Regions from separate parts of the Homo sapiens genome. Here regions 2, 3, 4, 5, 6 and 7 are each linked to region 1. Evidence: promoter capture Hi-C in 16 types of primary human blood cells and fetal thymus (Javierre and others, 2016). All regions are on one chromosome and are shown on one strand. The core of a region is centred on a gene start or on the middle of the fragment in contact, and the rest is flanking DNA. Distances in the headings are between cores, read along the strand shown.

The links. Contacts are between HindIII fragments. The CHiCAGO score rates a contact against its expected background, and 5 or more counts as called.
Region 2: a contact is called between a fragment that was not itself captured here and the fragment with the promoter of TENT5A in region 1, in 1 of 17 cell types (total B cells). The highest score is 7.1, in total B cells.
Region 3: a contact is called between a fragment that was not itself captured here and the fragment with the promoter of TENT5A in region 1, in 3 of 17 cell types (total B cells, naive CD4 T cells and activated CD4 T cells). The highest score is 9.9, in total B cells.
Region 4: a fragment that was not itself captured here is called in contact with the fragment with the promoter of TENT5A in region 1 in 1 of 17 cell types (naive CD4 T cells); the score reaches 5.1 in naive CD4 T cells.
Region 5: a fragment that was not itself captured here is called in contact with the fragment with the promoter of TENT5A in region 1 in 6 of 17 cell types (naive CD4 T cells, naive B cells, total CD4 T cells and 3 more); the score reaches 9.6 in naive CD4 T cells.
Region 6: a fragment that was not itself captured here is called in contact with the fragment with the promoter of TENT5A in region 1 in 4 of 17 cell types (naive CD8 T cells, fetal thymus, total CD4 T cells and 1 more); the score reaches 9.8 in naive CD8 T cells.
Region 7: a fragment that was not itself captured here is called in contact with the fragment with the promoter of TENT5A in region 1 in 4 of 17 cell types (total CD4 T cells, naive CD4 T cells, naive CD8 T cells and 1 more); the score reaches 10.5 in total CD4 T cells.

The regions. Positions count from the first base shown.
Region 1 is chr6:81,750,738-81,754,193 of GRCh38, reverse strand. It overlaps TENT5A (terminal nucleotidyltransferase 5A), which reads left to right and starts at 1,513. Exons shown (of 3, transcript NM_017633.3): 1 at 1,513-1,763; 2 at 2,016-2,604. The coding sequence starts at 2,053. RefSeq lists enhancers at 442-491, 1,352-1,852 and a silencer at 1,312-1,441. The HindIII fragment of the contact is 5,877 bases long and covers 1-3,456 here.
Region 2 is chr6:79,762,570-79,766,025 of GRCh38, reverse strand. No RefSeq gene overlaps it. Among named protein-coding and RNA genes, the nearest start is that of LINC01621, 48 kb to the left of the region's middle. The HindIII fragment of the contact is 3,137 bases long and covers 105-3,241 here.
Region 3 is chr6:79,780,453-79,783,908 of GRCh38, reverse strand. LOC124901349 (a long non-coding RNA gene) reads right to left here. Exons shown (of 2, transcript XR_007059655.1): 2 at 1,646-3,456. Among named protein-coding and RNA genes, the nearest start is that of LINC01621, 30 kb to the left of the region's middle. The HindIII fragment of the contact is 413 bases long and covers 1,738-2,150 here.
Region 4 is chr6:79,855,763-79,859,218 of GRCh38, reverse strand. No RefSeq gene overlaps it. Among named protein-coding and RNA genes, the nearest start is that of LINC01621, 45 kb to the right of the region's middle. The HindIII fragment of the contact is 881 bases long and covers 1,345-2,225 here.
Region 5 is chr6:79,872,050-79,875,505 of GRCh38, reverse strand. No RefSeq gene overlaps it. Among named protein-coding and RNA genes, the nearest start is that of LINC01621, 62 kb to the right of the region's middle. The HindIII fragment of the contact is 270 bases long and covers 1,581-1,850 here.
Region 6 is chr6:79,931,787-79,935,242 of GRCh38, reverse strand. The region is part of intron 1 of ELOVL4 (ELOVL fatty acid elongase 4); the gene reads left to right. Among named protein-coding and RNA genes, the nearest start is that of ELOVL4, 14 kb to the left of the region's middle. The HindIII fragment of the contact is 3,184 bases long and covers 1-3,155 here.
Region 7 is chr6:79,952,870-79,956,325 of GRCh38, reverse strand. All of the region lies in intron 1 of LOC124901351 (a long non-coding RNA gene), which reads right to left. It also overlaps the pseudogene GAPDHP63. Among named protein-coding and RNA genes, the nearest start is that of ELOVL4, 7.0 kb to the right of the region's middle. The HindIII fragment of the contact is 1,160 bases long and covers 1,355-2,514 here.

The sequences.
Region 1 (3,456 bases), core at 264-2,763:
GACAGGGTAGTTGTCCTAGAGTCCCCAGGCGCACCTCAGTGCTTAGGCGCAGCGCTGAGGGGATGGCCTCTGCCACAGAGACAGTCGGATTTCTCCATTTTGGGACGCAGCTCGGCAGGGCACCGGGAGGGGGCGGCGTTGTCACGCAGCTGGATGCTCCACGGGTGACACCCCCGCACCCTACCCCTCACCCCCGAGCCGCGCAGCTTGAGTGACTAGGCCGGGGCTCCCCCAGTTAGGAGGTGCGGGCTGTTTTTCCTCCCAGTCTGGGCGGGCAGGGCTGAGCAGGGTTTGGGGAGTATTCTGTGACCCTGGCATTCTCCCCTCTGCCCCACCTCAGCCCCCGGCAGCGTCTAGGCGCTGGGAAAGCTGCTCCGGGTTAGTTGATGGAGGCAGCGAGCTGCCGAAGAGACGGCCACAGCTTTCTAGCAAAGAGTGGTGGTGGCGCGAGTGAGCGTGCGTAGAATTAGCTCTGCCGAAGTCACCGAAGCTGGAGGAGAGAATTCATTTTATTCTTGAAACTCCTACTTTTACGTCTCGTGGAAAACCAAATCGTATTCCACTGACACTATGATGCACTTAAAATGGCCAAACTTTAGGGGGCCGCGAGGAACGCGCTTCGCCGCCTCCAATTTTGTCAGAGAACTCGCAGCAAAGGCACCGGACACCTAGCGGCCCTTTCCCTGGACTCCGGGGCAGCACGCACTCCCCGGGCGCGCTCTCTGCGCCCACTCGGCCCGCCCAGTCCTCGGCCATTGGCTGCTCGCCCGCGTCTGCTCCGTGACGCGCCCTGACCCCCGCGAAGTACTGGCCCCTTGGAGCCACTCGTGCGCAGGAGCCGCGCACGCCCGAGGCCCGTGGTGCCGCCCCCGCGCCTTCTCGGGCTCGCCCAGAGCTCCCCGGCGCGCTTCCCGAGGTTTCGAGAATCGAAACCCAGTTATCAACAAGCCCTTCCCACTCACGCGCCGTGACTGATTTGCGTGCAAGAGTGGACTCATGAGTCCACACTTGGATCGGGTTTATCAATGGAGTAAATGGTCTACCTAAAAACCGAGGTTTAAAAGAGCGGTCGTGAGGAACCTCCGGAGCCCAACCGTGATGATCTAAAGACGGGCTGAGTCCGCGAGAATTTTGGGAAGTTTCTGCAGTTGCAGGATTTTAGTCGTGATCTGGTTTTGATGACCACTTATGATTCCTGGGGCATTTAAAGTGTCTCCTCCTGGGGAAAATGAAAAGAGATTTGTGGGAGGGGGCGTACATAAATTAAATGTATGTATAAATACACGCATCTACGGGCGCACACAGTATCCGCACATACAGCCCAGGACCTCACGCTCACCGGCAGTCGTCCCGCACTAACTGCTGGGCTAGTCAGCTGCGTGCCCTGCGGGCGGGGGAGGGCAGAGGGGGCGGCGCCCTATGCAGATGAGGAGGGTGTGGCGAACGTGCCGCTCTGGGCCCCGGAAGCGCAGAGAAGCCCGGTATAAAAAAAGTACTGAAGACATTTTCCCCGCACAACTGCTAAAGCTCCAGAGACACGAGCGTGTGTGGCAGCAAGAGCCGCCAGTTCGGGACCACCGCAGCTGGGGTGGCAGCGGCGCAGGAGGGGTCGCGGGGAGGGAGTGGTGAGCGCAGGCGGCAGGGGTCTGGGAAAGACGAAGTCGCTATTTGCTGTCTGAGCGCGCTCGCAGCTCCTGGAAGTGTTGCCGCCTCTCGGTTTCGCTCTCGCTCGCTGCGCTCCTAGAAGGGGCGGCCGCCTCCAGGTGACACAGACGGGACTCTCGCTTGCGCTTTCCAGATGCATCAGAGATACTTTTGGTGCGGGGCTGCTCTGCGGGGCGCGGTGCGCGGCTGGGGACTGTAAGGGCCGGGGGAGGGAGTCTCCGAGGAGGCCCGGGGTCAGGGAACTATCGGGGGAGGGGGCGCTCTTTTCCTGGCGGGCCTCTGCTCTCCGCCGCCGCGCGTGCTCTCCGCCGCCGCGCGTCCTCACCGCGCTCCTTTCCCTTTCTTTTTAGGACTGACCAGGGCCAAGTGGCGCTCGGCGGGCACTACATGGCGGAGGGTGAAGGGTACTTCGCCATGTCTGAGGACGAGCTGGCCTGCAGCCCCTACATCCCCCTAGGCGGCGACTTCGGCGGCGGCGACTTCGGCGGCGGCGACTTCGGCGGCGGCGACTTCGGCGGTGGCGGCAGCTTCGGTGGGCATTGCTTGGACTATTGCGAAAGCCCTACGGCGCACTGCAATGTGCTGAACTGGGAGCAAGTGCAGCGGCTGGACGGCATCCTGAGCGAGACCATTCCGATTCACGGGCGCGGCAACTTCCCCACGCTCGAGCTGCAGCCGAGCCTGATCGTGAAGGTGGTGCGGCGGCGCCTGGCCGAGAAGCGCATTGGCGTCCGCGACGTGCGCCTCAACGGCTCGGCAGCCAGCCATGTCCTGCACCAGGACAGCGGCCTGGGCTACAAGGACCTGGACCTCATCTTCTGCGCCGACCTGCGCGGGGAAGGGGAGTTTCAGACTGTGAAGGACGTCGTGCTGGACTGCCTGTTGGACTTCTTACCCGAGGGGGTGAACAAAGAGAAGATCACACCACTCACGCTCAAGGTAACACCACCCGAGATGCACTTGGGTCCTGACCCAGTCTGGGCCGGGTGTGACGGGGAGCGGGCAGAGGGGCATCGGTTAAATGCCATGAATCTGTGGCCATCACGAGTTTGGGCGCGCGTTATTTCTTTGATTTTTGATTTTTTAAACCAGTAAACTGACGTGCGTGGACGGTGTTGAGTGTTTCAGTTTACTTGATGCTTTGGCGCTACAACTCTTCTCCCAGGTCCTCCTCTGCCCTCTCTTCTCTTCTTTCTCCTTATGTTTTAACTCTTGGCTTTCCCTGTTGGAGTCTTGTCCAGAGTAGATTCTGATACTTGGCAGAATGAAATGATGTAAATAATTTTTGAGTCATTATATTTGAGTCTAGCCTTTGGGAAAATAACAGCCTGAAGCAGAAGTGAGTCAATGAGTTTTTTATTGTACTGGAAAAGGTGAATAGATTTCACAGCGGCATTCAGCTGACTACGTGTTAAAGGTCTATCTGGTGGTTCTTCGTGCTGGTTCATATGTTAAGGGTATAGTGGCACCCCCTCCCCACCCTCCACTTTAGTTCAAGACGGGTTTTATATGATTAGTTAAAATTGTCTGAGGAGGCAGGCTCCTGGAATGTCATAATTTAGTTTATATTTGATTGTAACTGCAGGGTGCCCCTGGAGGGACACACAAGATACTGATAACATTGATTGCCGCAGGCGGAGAGGAATTGGGTGGCTTGGAACAAGGGCGAGAGGCTGACTAACCTACCGCTGAATGCCCTTCCGAGTCTTTTGAATGTTGTTTGGATACTGTGTGAATATTGTGCCTATTAGACCGTTTTCAAAAAGTAACACTTAAAAAGTCAGACATGAC
Region 2 (3,456 bases), core at 424-2,923, 2.0 Mb after region 1:
ACAGATCATCTCTACAGTTCTATTTCTATGCCTTGGTCAGCACAAGATTGGAAAAATGGCCAATGGTTATAAAACTTTTCATACATGTTAATCAGATAAAAGCTTCAAGGCTTAGAAATAGCCTGTCAGGGGTGCACTGAAGCCAACTCACAAGAGCCAATTATTATCATTTCCCAAACTGTGTTCTGTCACGTTGCTTGCATATCTTGAATTTGTTAATTGTGGGAGTCTTTATACCATGAAAACTGACAAACACTACAAATCAAGACTTTTTTGGAGTGCTTGCTACTGACATAGGATTTTTTCAGGGCCACTTCACCAGCCAGAGACCTCCGTGGCTGGCAGGGCCTCTGCTCAAGTTTCACTCATGCCCAGTGGCCTTGCTCTGCCCACTTGGCCCAGCAGGATGTGCTTGGCTCACATTAGTGGTTCAGATCCTGTGCTCACAGCAGGATCTGAGCTCAGCCTTCAGTTGGGCCATGCATGCTGTGACCTGGTTCCACCTTGGGCTCTGGCTTCTGGATGAGGGGAATGCGGTGGTGCCTGAAAACTTTGAAGACAGCAGCAACCTCAGAACCCCAAAGAGGGTGTTACAGTATGTTTGTTCCCACCGCCCTCTTCCAGCCTGTGGCTTCTGGCCTGGCCCTGCCGTCACTTGCTCTTGCATGGGGCAGCTGCCCAGCACCAGCAGAGGGCAAGAGGGCTACCAATGTTACAGCCCCTTTCTGCCCCACTGTTCAGCAGGTCCCGGGTTCTTGTCTCGCATCCAAGAAGAATGAGGTTATGCAGACAACCACAGTGAGCAAGGAGGGGAAGAGTTTTACTGAGCAACAGAACAGCTGTCAGTAGAGAAGGGATGTGAAGTGGGTAGCCCCTACTCAAAGGCGGGTAGTCCCAATGTGTGGCTGAGTACAGGTTTTTTATGGGATAGGCGAGTGCCTGCTGACTGGTCCATGGGAAGCCTGGAAAAAGCACTCCATTCAGGGACTTTACCCGAAACTGGCAGGTTGGTTTTCAGGTTTCAGGCTGTCTTTGGCTTGGAGGCGAGGTTTCACCAGGGACACGCCCCTATCTGCCTAGGAATTTGTCTGCCTCCTGCCACTATCATTAGCAGCACACCCCTGGGCCTGATCCAAAACTCTGATGTTCACTGTTTGGTAAACTCATGCCGAATATTCCCCTGCGTCATTTGCTGTTAACAATGTGAAATGCTGTGGCTGATGTTGCAGAGGTAGGTAAGGAGCCTTGGTGTAGTGGGACATTTAACGTGGCACCATCCCATAGCAGGAGCCTGAGAATGTGTCTACAAGGTCAATCTGTTCTGTCTTATAGCTCATCTTTGTTTTACTTTATTCACATTAATTTATCTTTATTGGCTTTTTGTGTTTCATTGTTTTGGGAACTTATGTTTGTTGGAATCTCACATCACTTAATAATTAAACAGTTCTATTAACAGTAATTATAGATCCTCTTTTTAGGTCTTGTAAATCTGAAAAGACAGACTGACAGAGAAAACATCTTAAAAGGAGGCATGAAAAAATCTTCTTCAATTAAACTACTGAAAGAAAGTGGAATTCCTTTCTCAGAAGTAAGGGCTAGTAAGTAAGGGCTGTGCAATTTTTGTTGCTATTTTAAGCTAATTATAAGTTGTGTACTAACCTTATATATTACATATATTCAGACTATATTTTTTGCTTGAAATGGTATCCTGGAAAATTCAGAGACAAGGCGAATGTCATCTCAGCTCAGGTCATACATTTCTTTTCTTAAATATCTTGACTTCAGAGATGGTGAATTCCTATTCTATTCCAGGCTGGTAGACTTGCTTTCTATTAATCCAAATCATTTTAATGTGGAAAGACAGGTCCCCTATACTGTTACCCACCAATGAACAGCCCTCAAACTCCTCATCCTTGGCCACAGCATTTAATCTTCATCTGATGTGAGCATATGTAATTGGATTCATTATTCTCTGAAGGGCAATAGACACTGAATTTTTAACTATTCAATCACACTATCAGCCCACTGAATTATCTCTACTTTTTCTGGCTTCCTCTACATTTTCTGAGCAGTAAGCTATTATTTTTAATATTTGGCATAGTTTAATACATAAGGTGCTGTTGGTCATAGAAGACAGGGCAGAGTTTGAATTCACCTCAAAGGAGAATGTAATTTAAAATTACTAGATTTTTCCTAAATATCCAATCGATGCCATAGTGGGGTTTTGAAATAATCACTAATTCTAATAAAAACTGAGACAGAAACCAAAATTACTACAGCATCTATTTTCACAGGTTGCCAGAAATGACCATTTCAGGTCTTGGGTCAATGAGAACAACACATTTTTGAACATAGTAGGAACTTATTTATAGATCTATGTTTGTCTACTTCCCAGTACATGGGCCAGCATTTCTGTTTGGACTGAACTTATCTATAAGTTACTGTAGTAAAAAGCAAACCTCTCTGTGTGCAAACCCCAAGGAAAGAAATGTCCTCCAGTATTCCTGTGGTTTACCATTACGGGAGCTGAAGAGTCAGTCATCCAAGGTATGTGGCCAAGAGGCACCTAGAAGGTACAGGATGACATAAATCACGTAGAATTTGCCAAATAACTCTGCATATGGGCTAAAAACATATGATGCTCTTGAAATAAAACCCTTACCATCTCCATCTCCCAAAATGAAATTTTCTTTTTTTCTCATGCTTTTTTTTCCATAGAGCCCATGCACATGAAGGCTTAATTTCTTTCCAGCATTTTAGCAGAATTTCCAAACTTTTATCTTTTTAAATGTCTATATCCTTTTAAGTAGCAAAAGAAAGAGTCACTAATTAAGTATGCTGAGGGAAAATTCAATTCATTACAAATTATCTAAGAGCTGTACGCACCATTCCAGTTATGAAGAATCAATCCTACTCAGGGAACTAATGAGCCCTAGCTTCTCCATTAAATTGGTGCCTGTCATTTAAAATGATACACAGATGCATATGTACCTGAATGTCGTGTGAATTATTTATATGTAAATAGTACACATATCCCATTTTCTTTTAAAAAAGCAATTCATTTGCTATAGACTTTAAAATCTGTCTTTCTTACTTGTACTTTTTTATTATTTATCAGAGCTCAAATGTAAAGCTATTTCTTCAATCACCAAGTGACAATAATATACAAATCCTTGAAGTGATATGCAATGCAAAAACATGACTGTTAATTAAATCATATTTGTGCTTCTTAAAGCAAGCTTATATCTGTCTCCAAATAGCAAGATAACTTCAATACCCCTCCCCACCTTCAGAAGAAGAATATTAACATACTTGATTCTTTTTCCATTTTTCCTCTTCACTGCTGATGTCCAGCTTCCATCATGCTATTACGGCTACTGAGCATAGTCACATGACAGGATATGTAGACTCCTAATGGCTCAGGTGAAAATAAATGCATAAATAAAGAAATAGGCT
Region 3 (3,456 bases), core at 695-3,194, 2.0 Mb after region 1:
AGTCCAGACATTGCGAAGTGTCCCCTGGAGGCAAAAGCATCTCTAGCTAAAACTATGGCTCCATGCCCAAAATGACTTACTGAATACATTTACATGCATAGCATATGCTAGGCATTTGTAGGAAGGAAGGATGGGTGTATGGAAAGAAGGAAGGAAAGGAGGAAGGGAAGAGAGAAAGAGAGAGGGGGTGGGATGTAGGGAGGGAGAAAGAGAGAGAGAGAGAAAGAGAGAGAGAGAGAAAGAGAGAGAGAGAGAGAGCCCCAGTGCAATATCTCAAGGCACCCGCATTTCAAACAAGATACTACACAGACAAAAATACAGCAAAACTTACTATTATGGAATTGCCTTTCACATTCAAAAGAAAATAAAGGTCAACTTTCCACTCCTCTTTATCCAAAAGAAAGTTAACTTTTAAATTAATATCTTCCACATGAGCCCTAGTTGAGACACTGACATCACTTCTAGATTCTATCAAACTTGCACACTGGTTTAAAAATGCAGAACCAGAAGTCAAGGGGACGAGGTGTCCAATTCTGGTAATGTCACTAATGCAACGATTTAAAAAAAACCATGTCAACATTTTGAACTTCTGTGTTCTCTAAAAGATCATGTATCTCCCAGGACTCCTGCTTATGGAAGCATTTTCAAATGTATCAGGTCCTATCCAAATGGTAAGGAAGATATAACTGTCTATCCTGTGTGTACACCTCAGATTATCTTCTCAAGGGAATGATGCTTTCATTTACTTCTTTTTGTCTTTCTATTAGCTTAGAACATATATTTAGAAGGATTTCATTTTATTTGAGATCATAGAGGGAAGGAAGCCACTTTTTCAAGTGGTCATAAGAGCCACAACAGAAGGCCTCTGAGTCAGAGTGGGATGACACAGTAGGCTGTGAAGCTAGTGCACGACAGAATTGTGCCACTGACTCCACTCTGGTCTAGAACTGGTGGTCATAGGCCCCTAGAGGCCCCTAGTGGAGACCTACTTAGAGGAAGATAGAGTTGAAGCACTCTCTGATGAACAGGGCGTTGGCATTGAATGGTCCTGTGCTTGGTGTAACGCTCTGTGGGTGTTACTTTGAAAGATTTTTTTAGCAGGAGGCTCTCTGCATTTTTTTTTTTTTTTGCAGTGGGCCCCACAACTTATGTAGCCAGTCCTGCCAAAGAAGAATGTTTTCTTAGGGGTACTTGAAAACCAAAATGAGCTCATTCACTTCACTTGAAATTGTCCCTCCATCTGTCCCTTGACAATAACCATTCCTATCTCTGAGGCTCCTTGAACACCAATCGTAATAAGTACAGGTACATCTACTGGGTACTTAGCATGTGCCAGGCACTGTACTAAGCACTTTATACATTCATTACAAATTTGTTCACCTTCATATCTCCACAAATTACTGCTCCTCCATTTTACAGATATAGGAAGTCAAGGAAGGTGCCCAAGGTCACACAGCTATGAAGTGGAGGAGCCAGCCTCCAACTCCCACACCTGCTCCACAGTCTGTGCATTTGTTCACATGATTCTGCCTCCACAGACACCTCCCTGGAGGTCTAAATGTATAAAATCCATACTTCTGGCACTATATTACCTATCTGTGTTAGGCCATTCTTGTACTGATCTAAAGAAATACCTGAGACTGGGTAATTTCTAGGAGTTTTAATTGGCTCGCAGTTCTACAGGCTGTACAGGAGGCATGATGCTGTCATCTGCTTCTGGGAAGGCCTCAGGAAGCTTACAATCATGGTGGGAGGTGAAAGGGAAGAAGGTGTCTCACATGGCAGCGGCAGGAGCAAGACAGGGAGCACGTGGAAAGAGGTGCCACATACTTGTAAACCACCAGATCTCCTATGAACTCAGAGTGGGAGTTCACTTACCACCAAGGGGATGGCCCAAGCCATTCATGAGGGATCCTCCCCCATGATCCAAGCACTTCCCACCGGGCCCTATCACCAACACTGGGGATTACAATTCAATATTAGATTTGGGTGGGGACAAATAGCCACCACATTATATCATGATCACTTAAATGTAGCCAGTAAAGGCCTCGTGGGCCAAACATCCTGGTTATCCTTGCCTCCTTCACCCTTCTTCTCCCACCTCACATTCAATTCCTCACATATTCTGTGAGCTCTATTCCTGAAAAGCTTTCAGAGTTTGACTCCTCATCACCTTCGCCACTTTCCACTCTGTCCATGCCACCACTGTTCCTTCCATGGGTAACATCTGTTCTTGTGGCATTCTGGAGCACCTTTAAAACCAAAGTGTAATCTGTCTCTCCTCTTTCCAACAGTGCCCCGATCACTCAAAATGGAGGCCTTATTGTATGCAGCTGCATGGCCCTACAGAACATAGCCTCATCCCCACCACAGTCTACCTGGCTTACTCCACTCTTATCTCATTGGCCTTGTAGTGGCTCCTCAGAACAAAACAAAAGCACCAGAAACTTTTTTCTCCCAGGTATCATGCAGGGCATTCAATCTCTTTCTTCATGCATGTCTCTGCTCAGATGTCCTCTTACAACGAAGGCCTTTTCAGACAATGCATCAAAAGCAGAGCCCCTCTCCTGCCCTACTTTGCCTTCCTACCCTGCTCCCTCTCCTTAGCACCTAGGTTATGTTCATGAACCAAAGACTGATTCTGTGTATTGAACCCTACCTTGTTTATTTCCTCACTGCAGGTTAAATTGTCAGCTCAAAAGCCTGCTGATGCCAAATGCAAATTTTTACACATCCAGTTATTTAAAAAATAGCACAAACAAGCAGATTTTTAGCCATCTGGAGCCTGCCTACTTTACGTACCCTATGAGGCCTCACCCAACAGCTGTTGCTCATTGATCAGATGGGGCCTTGTACTTATAAGGCCCTGAACACTGTGGCCCTTCTGAGCTCTCTGACCCAGACTCTCTGCTGTACTGCTGAGTGACATCACTTAGATCCTCTAAGCCCCCTTTCTAATCCCCCTCTCTCTTGATTTTCTGTTTGCTCTTCTCCCCTTCTAAACAGTGGCCCCCTTGCCCTAAACCTCTGGATGGTCTCACTAGGAGAGACATCCTCTTTCATGCAACCCCATCCAAGAGCCATTCAGTAAAGCATGTTGTATGTTACTGCCCCCTGTGCTCACATCTTTTTCCTTGATCATCTCCCAGATCCCTCCAACTCAACTCCTACAACAAAGCACCCTTATGTATTTTCTGTCTTTCCTCAAGGTCGGTCTCAAATAGCAGGAATTTTGTTTTGTTCACTGATGCATCTCCAATCCCCGGAACATGACTCCATGTTGCTAGTAGACACCTGATATATACATATGTAATAGGTATCAAATATATATATGTATATTTGTTGTAGTAGGAAATGAGTGAATGAATCATCACTGCATCACTGTTCTTCATTTCTCTTTCACTCATCCCATTCTTTTACACTTCATCATTACCTTCGAATAATCTGTTCTCTTCC
Region 4 (3,456 bases), core at 536-3,035, 1.9 Mb after region 1:
ACCAAGAATATTGTGTACTGATGTCCTAAAGAACCATCTTTAGTTAACAGAATTTTAGGCCCTGTTTATGTTGGGGAAGGTGAAGAGGGAGGAGGTTGAGATCAAGAGGTGATCAATGATCACAGACATCTGGGTGGCAACAAGGATCTCAGGGAGGGTTGTGAAACTGCCTTGTCCTTGGTCAGGTCACAATGCTCCTATAAATCTTTAACATAACATGGTTCCTTGTGTGTACACCATCCTTATCTCCTCAGGGGTTTGTTTTGGGAAGGGACTATTATCCTTGCTTTAAAGGTAAACTGTAAATTCCTCCCATAATTAGTTTGGCCTATGTGCAGAAATAATCAAAAGCAGTTGACCTAAATGATATCATTGTTTAGGGTGCTAGGGGCAGTGGTGGGGTTAGGAGCAAAATGGAACTAGTCATGCTAGACTTCCTTTCACTACTACAATTTCTGCACTGTCAAAGGTCATTCCACAATCTTGTGGGATTGCAGACAAAGGGATTTTTTTCTCTCATCTGCCTATTTCTTGCTGGACAAGGTTGATGAGGGGCGACTGTAGAATAAAATAGTTTGACCCGCCTAAGGAAATAGTCCTTAGTGTTTCTTTTAGGAACAATGATCATGGGCATCTCCTTTCTTGCTTTGATAGTCAAACTCATGCAACCTTTGGTTATGCAATACATAGTAAGTTTTACTAGTACGTAGGCCGCCATGACAAAAGAAGAATATTAAGGCCCAATTTAAGAATGCTTTCCAGGATTAACTGAATTCCACTAGGAATCCCAGAGAACAGGTCTATAAACCAGTCCCTGAAAGTGCCCAGATTAATTCTGCTTTGGTGTTCTAAAGTTCGTTGAAGTCAGGTGGCCTGTTGTATAATTTTACTAATATGGGTCTCTACTTTAGAGGAGGAATTAATGTAAGTGCAACAGGTGGCTTAACCTAGGGAGGTCATTTGGTCAATAGAAATTACACTTGTAAGCTTGTGGGTTCTTATTATTTCTTTGCACATAATGTGTAATGCAGTGCTGAGTAAGAAAGAAGCATGGACCTCTGGGTACGAAGTTATCAATCAGACCCTACAGGTGATTGGAGAAACAGGCTTCAGGTTGGTGCAAGAGTAATTGCGGTTTTTGCATTGTTGAAATTTGCCATTTGATATTGGAATGCATTCTTAAATAAATGTGGTAGGACATACATTTTTATTTCACTTACTGTTTTTGTGTAAGAGTAGCTTTGGATCCTCCAAGGGCTCCCAAGCCCCTTGTTTTCCTGGTTTCTTCTGGTTGTGCTGCCTTGACCTGAGTGTGATGCACCTATGGCTTTCTTCCAGCAAGCTTAACTGATGAGTGAATATTTGACAGCACTTTGAATGGCCTTGTCAACTTGGCAGGAGGTCAGCGTTCAAGTCCTTTTTTTTTCAGAGTCTTCAGGAGGACACAGTCTCCCAGTTGAAAATGATCTAGGGCTACATCTGTGGGATGAGTGGTCCTGCTAGAAGCAAACTCATGAACAGAAGTCAGTATAGTGCCCAGAGTCTTAACATATTTGGCAACTGCTAAATCTTTGAAAGCATCAGTTGGTGGTCCCACTGGAGCAGACACCTGGAGTAGCCTACCATAAGGGACTCAATTTGAGCCTACTTCAGAGAGCCACTCTAATCCATAACAGGGCAACCAGCAATGACTTATCCCAAATCAAATTCATTTCTTGACATATTTTGACAATGCGTCTTTTGAGAGTATGGTTTATCTATTCAGTTTTTCCCATCAATTCTGATGTGATAATTGATCACAGCCAGTGCCAGAGAAAGGCAGTCTCCCAATAGATAGAAAAAGCCTGAAACTGAGGATCAGCAACTTCCCAATAAAATCTCAGGAGTTGGATGAGTAGTCTGAAGCACATGCATTAAGAGGCAAAATGGCAGAGTAACTGGTATGTGTCCTTCCTCTAGAAACACTCAACTGGTAAGGGAAGGCCCAAGTGGTGTACAATCTCAGTAAACACACTGCGATGCGGCCCCTCCCAAGTGCTGACAGGCCGCTGCACATGCAGACAGCCTACCCCAAGGGAAGAATCAGAGGAGAAGTAACACAGGACCCTGGAAGCATGCCAGTGTATAAAACCCCAAGTCAAAAGGTCAAACCATGCACTTCATCTCTCTAGTCACCTGCTTGGTCCTCTTCAAAGTGTACTTTCTTTCATTCCTGTTCTAAAGCTTTTAAATAAATTTTTCACTCCTGCTGTAAAACTTGCCTTGGTTTCTCATTCTGCCTAAGCCCCTTGGTCAAATTCTCTCTTCTGAGGAGGCAGGAATTGAGGTTGCTGGCTTCACTACTGGTAACATAATTTGGTACCACAGGAGTCAGATGCATTATGCTGCTAACATTTCCACCCCTCCGCATTTGTATATTGAAGCCCTAACCCTCAGTGTGATGGCATTAGGAGATGAGACCTTTGGGAGGTAATTAGGTTCATATGAGGTTATCAGGTGGAGTCCAGACAATGGAATTAGTGCCCTTATAAAAAGACATATCAAAGAGCTTGTTCCTTCTCTCTCTCTTTGCCATGTGAGGAGCTAGCAAGAAGGCAGCTGACTGCAAGCCAGGGAGAGAGATCTCTCTGGGAACTGAATCCTCTGGCACCTTGATCCTGGACTTCCCTGTCTACAGAACTGTGAGAAATAAACATCTATTGTTTACATCGCCCAGTCTATAACATTTTGTCATGGCAGCCCAAGCTGACTAAGAAGGGGCTTAGTAACATGGTCAATATGGGATCACATTGCTCAAAATGCCATAATGAACTTATGAGAAAAGACCAGAAAGTTAAAGGTTACACTCTATTGGAGCTGATACATATTCCCTCTCCCAAATCATACACTGACTCCCAAAATAAAAAATACTACAGCCTATTCAGTTTTAATTTGTGTATTGAGATTTTCAATTAAAAGGTATTATGGTCAGAAATCAATGAGAAGAATGCACATTCATTAAATGTATTCATTATAAGTAAATAAGTCTTAGGAAGGCCGAGTATTTCTTCTACTGCCAAAGACTTGTTCTTGATTAAAGTGTAGGTAAAATATACACGCAGGCTGACATTTTAATTCATTAAGATTCCTTTGCTTGGTTCTGGAAGTTTCAGAGACTAAAGTTTGTTACCATTGACAACATAGTATTTTCAGTAAAAGGAACTAGAAAGCAATGAAAAATCAGAAGCGAGGGGGCTTAGAGAGACGTATACCCTCTAAATATACACAAATTTCTACCCTGTATTTATTTTCAAAAGAAATAAATTTTAAGTAATGCTAATTTAACCAATGGGGAAAAAACTTTCAAAAAATATACATTCTCCATTACAAACTAGAAGGTAAATATTAAAATACAATTGTAAGCCAGTAAGTTTGCTTACACAGATAAGAGTCATTATCCCTTTGAAACACAAAGCA
Region 5 (3,456 bases), core at 466-2,965, 1.9 Mb after region 1:
CATGAGGGCTTTGGACCCTGTAGTCATGCTGCTCTTCTTAAAGCATAGCTAAAAGAAGTGATATTTACGGAAGATAAGTCTCATTCCACTTGATCTCCCAGAATCATTTTATATCATTGACACCCAACTTCTCCTTTCTTTCCGATCCTTTTGCAAAACACTCATTTCTTCTTCAGTCTCTGACTCTGTTTTCTCTAGCTCCTGCCAGCCATCAAATAAGTTGTACCTCTTTGTTTTGTCCTTGGTCCTCTTCTTTTTCTCCATGCACCTTTAATTGTGGATCTTCCCAATTCCAGGGGTTCAGCTATCATTTCATTCATTTAACTGGTGTTTTATTCCACTTCGGTTATATGGCTTGGAATCTACTTTGATTTGTTAGACTTGCAGTTAATTAATTTGTTCATTGATTAATTCATTTGTCAAACTTTTAAGACCTTCTACTACGCACCAGACACCAGGTTGAACACAGAAGATACGGAGCTGAATAAGAAATGATTCTTCTCTCAAAAATTTCACAATAATATGCTAATGTTTCCTGTTTCACAAGCTCTGAACTCTTTCCTAAGATCTAGATAAATGAAATTGCCAACTGGATGGTTTGTTTGCTCTTCAAACTAGCATGTCAGAAAAGAGTCTGGCTTTACCCCTCAGCCACCCCTACTCACATTTGTTTTTCACCATTTCTATTAGTGTCCTCAGCACCCCAGCACCAAATTATCTTCCTCCTTTTCTCGTCTTCCCAGCCTTGATTCCTCATCTTTCTCTACACATACCTCACACTTTAGTCAATAGCTCTGTCCTGAGCACACCCAAACTCTTCCCAGTCTTCCAGTATCAAGACTACTTTTAAGATCTGCTTCCTTGCAATGAGTTTCGTGTAAATTAGAATGCACATTGTGACAATATTAACTTTTATTGTCAACTTCTGTTCCTACCGTAAATGCATTTTGTAATGAATCTTCTCTCTATGGCTGTCCATGGAGGATATATTATCATTTTGTTTTACATGTGAAGAAATCAAGTGACTTGCCCATGATTATACTACTGGCAAGGGTCAGGGTCAGAAAAACAGTTTGCCAGTTTCCCAAGTATGAATCCTTTTCAGTGCTTGACGATCGTGAAGCAAGTTCTTAGCTTCTCTCAGCAGCATTTCCCAAAGGGTGTTCCTTGAGATGCTACTTGATGCTATTCAACAAACAAAGAATCCTACAGACAAATGAATTTGGGAAATGATAAGAAATTAAAACCGGCTTCTTTTCTGCTAGTATTCTCTGAATTTTTAACATGCTAATGAAGTGCATTGTGAATATATAATGCATAATATTTTATATAGCACTTTCTGAAGATGACCTAATTACCACAGAACCATTACTTCACAGCCTCTCTCAGACTTGTTTTATTCAGAATAAATCAGAGAAAATGTCTTTTAAAGAAAGGGAGCTTGGGGGTCACAGCACTAGTTCATATTCTCTTAATTTCACTTGACATGAGAAATCTTCACCTTAATATTTCCTGGTTGACCATTCAACAAGCTTGTTATGAATTCAATTACACATCAGTTTCAACCTTTGTCAAAAGCTTTTCTTAGGAGGCTCAAGGAGGTGCCTCACCTTCTGGCAGAGAACTAGTGAGTCTGTGTTTACATTCTCAGGAAAATCATATTATTAATTAATAAGAACTTCTACTTTTTTAACACTGCTAAATTCAAGACACTGGAGCACTTATCTCACTTAATCCTCAAAACTATTCTGGGGAGTAGGTACTAATGTGACCTCTATTTCACAAATGGGAAAGCAAAGGCTCAGTAGTACATGCAAGTAAGCCTATGACCACCATAATAGTGATAAGCTTAAGGCTCATCACCAAGTCTCTCTGATCAGAGCCCGTGCTTTTAGCCTTATATTCTTATATCCTGACTCATTATCAACATATTTAAAAATAGGTGAATGTGATTGAATGATAGAAAAAGAATGTACCAGGAGACAGCCATGTCTGTATCCACCTCATGATATTTATAGCTCCTAGCACAGTGCTTAGCATGTAGGAGGTGTTTAAGAAATCTCTGTTGAACAGAAATTAAGTTGAATGACAGTATGGAGCCTTATAAGGGAGGTATATAGAAACAAGAGAACACACTTTGAAAAAGAGCATCAATTAAACAACATAGTATCTTCATTGTGAACATGTGAAGAAAAATCACATCACTCTTTGGAATGACTGGAATGATTCTGAGAGCTACTTGTTTCACCAGGGTCATAGTTTCCCTGTTGGCTTATTGAGCTAGAGAACAAGATGCTGCAGCTAAGCTGTCATCATCGCCTCTCTTTGTTGTTGCTCTTTTATTACATGTTTCAGTTGCAGCAGCAGGGATGAATCAGGCATACTTACACAATCTTGAGTTTCCTGAAGGAGAATTGCCTGTTAGTCGTATATCAACTACTCACCTGCCCAACCAGTGAAGATTTAACCTTAGATATTGGAGCATGTGCACATGTCAGAAATGTAGACAGAGGATAAGTAAAGAAATAAAAAGAACATGTAAAATCATCTTCTAAGTAACTTATTCAGCTACAACCGAGAAAAATTACAAATGTTATGATCGTGTCTGCAAAAGGAAGTGGATAGGTGTATTTAGATGAGTTTCTTACACTGAGATAAGTAAGATAAGTTAAAGATAATGAAATTTATATGCTGGGGTGATGACTAAAGAAGGAAATCTTAATTACCCAAAAGAGTATGGATGGTATAAATCAACAAGGAGGGATAGAATTGGAAGGCCTAAGAGTTAAATAATTAGGAAAAACAACATATGATAAGAGAGAAAGGAGGAAATATCTAGTCAAACAACTTGAAACCGTCCTTGTTTGGTCTTAATATTAATCCTATTCAGTTGACTCTCTGATTCAGCAAGATGGGGCTCAAAGTTGAAGAGGTAACACAGCCTCTCTACCTCCTTTCAGTGTTCTGGATTTCTCATGAGTCAGTTGATGATACTCAGAGTGTGGTGCTGACACCATTCCCATTCACGTGTCCATTAAAGTAAACACCAGTGTGCACAGTGATCATTTTCACTGTGGGAACATCTGTAATCTGTTTTATTTTTATGTATTGACCTTAGTTTACCCAGACTCTTTATTCACAGGATTCAGAAGGTGTATCACACTAAAGTTAATGAAACCAAGCAGCTCTTATTCCCCCTTCTTCATAGCTCCTAGCATAGCATGAAACATGGTAAGCACTTAAAAAATGCTTGTTCAGAGAATGAGTAGAGGATCTAAATGACTGAAAGAACATAGAGTTAAAACAACCACTATTACATTTTGGTTCCAAAATTTTTCTTTTCATGAGATTAACTGTTCTTTGTACGGTCTGAGGTTCTTACCCCACATAACCTTTTATAATCCAATATAAAGTGGAATTACCAGATTTAAGGAGTTTACATCTCCACTGGGGCTA
Region 6 (3,456 bases), core at 314-2,813, 1.8 Mb after region 1:
ATTAGAGGTTTTTAAGGAAGTTGCTTTAATAAACATACTGATAATTTGTTGTAAGTATTAATTATAGTTGTTTGTGTATTAAGTAGAAGTTACCTGGGTTAGTTGAAAACTATTAGATTACAGGCATTTTATTATTTATTAAAATCTGGTTTATATTGTCATGAAAAGGAGTTTTTAAAAATAGCCTCTCTAAATAATTTTAAAAATCAGAGTGAGAATTTTTATGTATTTTATCTCCTGAATAAATAAATACAGAATTATAAAATGTCTTCTCAGTCTATGTCATAAAATGTTTTTTTATTCTCAGTGTAAACTCTTCTAAGTTTAATTATTCATGGTAATTTTTATTTAATTTGGTTTAACTTTTCTCTTTGAAGATAGAGGAGGATTTAGTGGTTGATCAGTGTCAATAATAATGAAATGCCAAAAATTATTGAACTCTGACACTGTGTCAGATGCTGTATACATGTTGTTCTATTCCTCACAACAGCCCTACTATCATCTATAAGGCCAGGGGCACTAAGTAACTTCTTGGGTTTATTCAGCTGGTAAGTGAAGAGTCTAATGCTGGTAAGTCTGATTTGAGAGTCCATATTCAGAATATAGAACTCTCTAGGTTGAGAAGAAAAATCCTGGAAGACATTGAGGGGCTTGACTTTTAAGGGGAGGGGCTCAGATTATCTCTGACATGAGACATACTTTGTGAAGATGTAAATTTGGGAGAGAATAGGCTGCAGCAGAAGGGAATGCATGACGTCGTGGTATCCATGTGTGCTAGGAACCTTCGCATACTTTGGTTCATTTAGTTATCACATCTTAACCCTATGAAGTAACTATTTCCTCATTAAAAAAAGAAAAAGGAAGAACAGTTGGTTTTCCAGCTATAGATTCTGTTCTGCACCCTTTCCTTTTGGAAATTTCTCGGTCTTTGTGACATGGTTTTCTCTTTTCCTGCCTCTCTGGCTTATTTGCTGCCATTTCACCCACTCATCTTCAACTGTCCTCAGAGTCATTCCTTTTTCATGTTATTCTCTCACTGTACATGCTCCTTCCCTTGTGACCTCAAACTCTGGTGTGATTGTCATTGTCAGTGACCCCTCTGTGTGTCCACAGCCCTGGCAGTTCCTCTGCAGCTCCAGAGGCTACTGGACGCCTCCACCTAGCTGTCCCAAAAGTAGCTCAGATGCGAGATGTTCAACATTCACCTGATCAGTTTCTCCCAGATCTGCTCCTCTTCCTTTACTCTGTTATGGATCATGACTTCACTGTCTGTGTTGCCAGATAGACCAGAAATCTGGGAGTAATCCTGAACTTTTCTTTGACTCTCTTCTCTCACATCCACAACAGTCGTGGAGTCTGTAGATTTTACCCACGAAACCTTCGTATCTACCTATCCTGTTCATTGCCAGTGCAGCTCCCTAACCCAGGTTTCCATCATCTCTTATGTCCTAGTGGTCTCCAAGTCTGCCTGCCTGTCAGAATCACCTGGGGGAGCTCAGATCATAGTGTCCAGTCCCACCCGCAGAGATTTTGATTCAGTAGGACCTGGGAATCTATAATTTTAGCAAGCACATGATTCTTACATGGGTAGTCTAGTGGTAGACAAGTATTGAGAACCACTGATGCAGTTGGTTTTCCTGCCTCTTGACATATCCCCTTCCCCTCAGTCCACACCCCACTGCCTCTACCATGATCTTTTGAAAGCCAAAACTGGCTGGGTGTGGTGGCTCATGACTGTAATCCCAGCACTTTGGGAGGCTGAGGTAGGTGGGTTGCTTGAGCTCAGGGGTTCAGGGCCAGCCTGAGCAACATGGCGAATCCTCGTCTCTACAAAAAACACAAAAATTAGCTGGGTGTTGTGGCATGCACCTGTAGTCCAAGCTACTTGGGTGGCTGAGGCACGAAAATCGCTTACGCCCTGGAGGTGGAGGCTGCAGTGAGCTGAGATCATGCCACTGCATTCTAGTCTGGGCAACAGAGCCAGACCCAGTCCCAAAACAAACAAACAAACAAACAAACAAAAACAATCAAATATCTCTTCATTATCTACATGATAAATTCCAGCATCCTCAGTGTAGTTTGTAAGACCTCCTAGGGGATCATCACAGTCATTTCCTGCCCTCTTCCTTTGTATATATCCTCTTCATCATGTCTGCTTAGTTTCCAGATTGTTTTATTTCTTGCTTCTGGGCTGCTTATACATTCAGTTCTCTCAGGGTATTCAGATATTCTCATTTGCTTATATCTTGTCATTGTACTAAGGGAACTTTTGTAGGTCTTTCTAATTCTGCCCCGTGAAAAAAGACTTTTCTCCCTGTCTGCTTGTCAAATTCCTCTTCTTTGAAAAAAAGTTCAAATGTCTGTGTTTATACCCTGCCTTCTCCCCTTTTCTGTCCTACCACTGTTCATAAGACACTCCTCTGACATAACACTCATCACACTGCATAGCAGTTGAATTCTCATGTCTGTCTCTTCCTCTGCTAGTTGAGCATTGAGAGATCAGGGACCAAGTGATCTGGCCAAAATCACTTTGCTGCAAAGGAGTAGTATATGACTTTGGAGTATATGACTTACCATCTATTCCACCATGCTATGTGATCTTAAGATAAAAATCAGATTAAGAATAAAAACTTATTGGTGGAAGATATTCAAGGGAAACCCCATTTCAGGTGGACTCTATTTTTTTTTTTTGAGAAGGAGTCTCTCTCTCTCTCTCTGTCACCCAGGCTGGAGTGCAGTGCGTGATTCCAGTTCACTCCAACCTCCACCTCCCGGATTCAAGCAATTCTCCTGCCTCAGCCTCCCGAGTAGCTGGGATTACAGGCGCACACCACCACGCCCAGCTAAATTTTTTTTGTATTTTTAGTAGAGACAGGGTTTCACCATGTTGGCCAGGCTGGTCTTGAACTCCTGACCTCAAGTGATTCGCCTGCCTCGGCCTCCCAAAGTGCTGGGATTACAGGCGTGAGCCACTGCACCCGGCCCCCTCATTTTTTATAAAGGAATAATACGCAAATAGTAAAATTGACTCCTTTTAGTGAACAGTTTTTGAATTTTGACAAACACATAGTTACATAATTATTACGTAACCTTTTAATAAAGATAAAATTGTATGATTGCTGAACACATTAAATCAGTCCCTCTTGGCATAAGCTTTAAAAATCAGTCTCAAAATATTTTCATTACAAACTATTTATTAACTCTTTAAGGGTCCGCAAGGGTTAAGGTGTAATGTGCCTTAGTAATTCTCATAATTAAAATAAAGGCTTTTGCTCCTGAGCTCAATTTGCTATGATATTTGGCTTTAGGTTTGCTTAAATTTTGTTCAAAACTATCATGGGAAACCCATTACCAAAGGAGACAACTCCTTCTGTGTACAAAAGGGAAAGACCCACTGGTTAGAAATTTCCTGAATTCAGGTGAAATTTACTTTCCTATAACTTCTGTTGGTTCTAA
Region 7 (3,456 bases), core at 685-3,184, 1.8 Mb after region 1:
TCTGAAACTATTCCAATCAATAGAAAAAGAGGGAATCCTTCGTAACTCATTTTATGAGGCCAGCATCATCCTGATACCAAAGCCTGGCAGAGACACAACAAAAAAAGAGAATTTTAGACCAATATCCCTGATGAACATCGACGCAAAAATCCTCAATAAAATACTGGCAAACCGAATCCAGCAGCACATCAAAAAGCTTATGCACCATGATCAAGTGGGCTTCATCCCTGGGATGCAAGGCTGGTTCAACATACGCATGTCAATAAACGTAATCCAATATATAAACAGAACCAAAGACAAAAACCACATGATTATCTCAATAGATGCAGAAAAGGCCTTTGACAAAACTCAACAGCCCTTCATGCTAAAAACTCTCAATAAATTAGTTTGGATACTTTCTGTTGCTGTTGTTGAGACAGGGCCTCACTAGGTGCCCAGGCTGATCTCAAACTTCCAGCCTCAATTGATCCTCCTGCCTCTGCCTCCCAAAACGTTGGGATTACAGGTGTGAACAACTGTGCTTGACCTTAAAATTTTTTATAGATATTTCATTGTTATTGATTTCCCATTTAATCCCCTTGTGGTCAAGTTCTATATTATTTCCTATTTGAAATTTATTAAGAGTTATTTAACAGCCCATAAAATTATAGATCTTTGTGATTGTTTCATGCCCATGAATTTGGCCTCCACCAGGTCAAATGATTTACAGTGTAATACATCTCTTCTATATTATAATTTATCTTTGCCTATTTATTATATTAATTATATAATAGGGGTATTAAATTCTATAACAATAATCTTGAATTTGTCTAATTTTTTTCTTAGTCTGTCAAATATTGCTTTATGTATCTTAAAGGTCTGTTATTACGTGCTTACCTTTTACTGGCTCTTTTATCTCTACTAACTTTGGTCTGTCCACATCCTGACATCCTTTAAGGAAGTGAAAAATAAAAAGCTTCTATTTTGCTTTAGGCACTTTTCTTTTGGGTTTTTCTGTAATATGTAATCATATCTAATGCTAAATGATACAAATACTATGACAAAAAAGTACAAGACACCGTGAACATGTGTGTAACGGGGATCTAACCTTGTTATTGGAGTCAGAGTTTTCCTAGGTCATACATTTAAGGTAAAGTGGGTATTAGCTCTAGTCAGAGGTTGTGAAAGAGTATTCCAAGAGGGAGAAAGTTATGTGCAAAAGCCCTGAGTCAAGGGAAGCTTGGCTCTTTGGAGAAACAGAAGGAGGTCCTGATTAGCTTCCCTGTATACTAAAAGCAGAAGTGGTAAAGGAATGATAGGCATTCTAGATCACACTTTCATTAGGCAAGAAGAAAGATTTACAATGTTCTAAGCTTCTAGATGTGGAGGCTTTGGAGCTTCCTGAGAGTACTAGAAATATTAAGAGATTTTAAGATGAGAAATGCCATCATCTGACATGCAATTTTAAAAGATACTCAAAGTACTGTGTGAGAATAAATTGTAGGAGGAAATAAATGGATGCAGAGAGATCAGTTAAGGGGTGATTGAGGCCAGGCACAGTTACTCACGCCTATAATCCCAGCACTTTGGGAGGCCAAGGCAGGCGAATTACGAAGTCAAGAGTTCGAGACCAGCCTGACCAACATGGTGAAACCCCATCTCTACTAAAAATACAAAAATTAGCCGGGCATGGTGGTGAGTGCCTGTAATCCCAGCTACTCAAGAGGCTGAGACAGGAGAATCACTTGAACCTGGGAGGCGGAGGTCGCAGTGAGCCAAGATCATGCCACTGCACTCCAGTCTGGGTGACAGAGCAAGACTGTCTCAAAAAAAAAAAAAAAAAAATGAGGTGATTGAAGTTTGAAGTGTTTAAGGTGGGAGAGAAATGATGGAATTTTCGGTTAAATTATATGCAGTAGAGCTGAGGGAAGTGGAAAAAATCAAGATATATTTTGCAAGCAGAATTAATAGGAGGTGGTCATGAATTGGATGTGTGTTGGAAGGGAGAATATTATAAAATGTCATTGATCACTTTTGGCATGTGTGGAAATAGGGAAATATGAAAGAAGAACAGATTGTGGGAGGGGGGGAGATAGGTTTTTAACATGTTGATTTTCAAGATGCCTGAGTTACATTAAAGAGAACCACACAAGCTATGAGATACATGAGCTGGAAAGAAGATCTAGGTTGAACACATATATCTGAGAGTTATGAATGCAGATGGTAACCAACGCTATGAGAGTGCATGAAATAATTTAGGCAGGGCTCTCTGCTCCTCCTGTTTGACAGACAGCTGCATCTTCTCTTGCATTGCCAACCACATCCCTGAGACACCATGGGGAAAGTGAAGGTTGGAGTCAATGGATTTGGTTGTATTGGGCGCCTGGTCATCAGGGCTGCTTGTAATTCTGGTAAAGTAGATATTATCGCCATCAATGACCCATTCATTGACCTCAGCTACATGGTCTACATGTTCCAGTATGATCCCACCCATGGTAAATTCCATGGCACCGTCAAGGCTGAGAACGGGAAGCTTGTCATCAATGGAAATCCCATCACTATCTTCCAGGAGCCAGATCCCTCCAAAATCAAGTGGGGTGATGCTGGCACTGAGTATGTCATGGAGTCCACTGGCATCTTCACCACCATGGAGAATGCTGGGGCTCACTTGCAGTGGGGAGCCAAAAGGGTCATCATCTCTGCCCCCTCTGCTGATCCCCCCATGTTCACGATGGGTGTGAACCATGAGAAGTATGACAACAGCCTCAAGATCATCAGCAATGCCACCTGAACCACCAACTGCCTAGCGCCCCTGGCCAAAGTCATCACTGACAACTTTGGTATCGTGGAAGGACTCATGACCACAGTCCACGCCATCACTGCCACCCAGAAGACTGTGAATGGCCCCTCCAGGAAACTGTGGCGTGACAGCCACAGGGCTCTCCAGAACATCATCCCTGCCACTACTGGGCTGCCAAGGCTGTGAGGAAGGTCATCCCTGAGCTGAATGGTAAGCTCACTGGCATGGCCCTCCGTGTCCCCACTGCCAACGTGTCAGTGGTGGACCTCACCTACCATCTGGAAAAACCTGCCAAATATGATGACATCAAGAAGGTGGTGAAGCAGGCATCAGAGGGCCCCCTCAAAGGCATCCTGGGCTACACTGGGCACCAGGTGGTCTCCTCCGACTTCAACAGTGACACCCACTCTTCCACCTTCAATGCTGGGGCTGGCACTGCCCTCAACGACCACTTTGTCAAGCTCATTTCCTGGTATGACAATGAATTTGGCTACAACAACAGGGTGGTGGACCTCATGGCCCACATGGCCTCCAAGGAGTAAGACCCCTGGACCACCAGCCTCAGCGAGAGCACAGGAGGAAGAAAGAGGCCCTCACTGTTGGGGAGTCCCTGGCACACTCATTCCCCACCACACTGAATCTTCCCTCCTCACACATTCCATGCACACCCCTTGAAG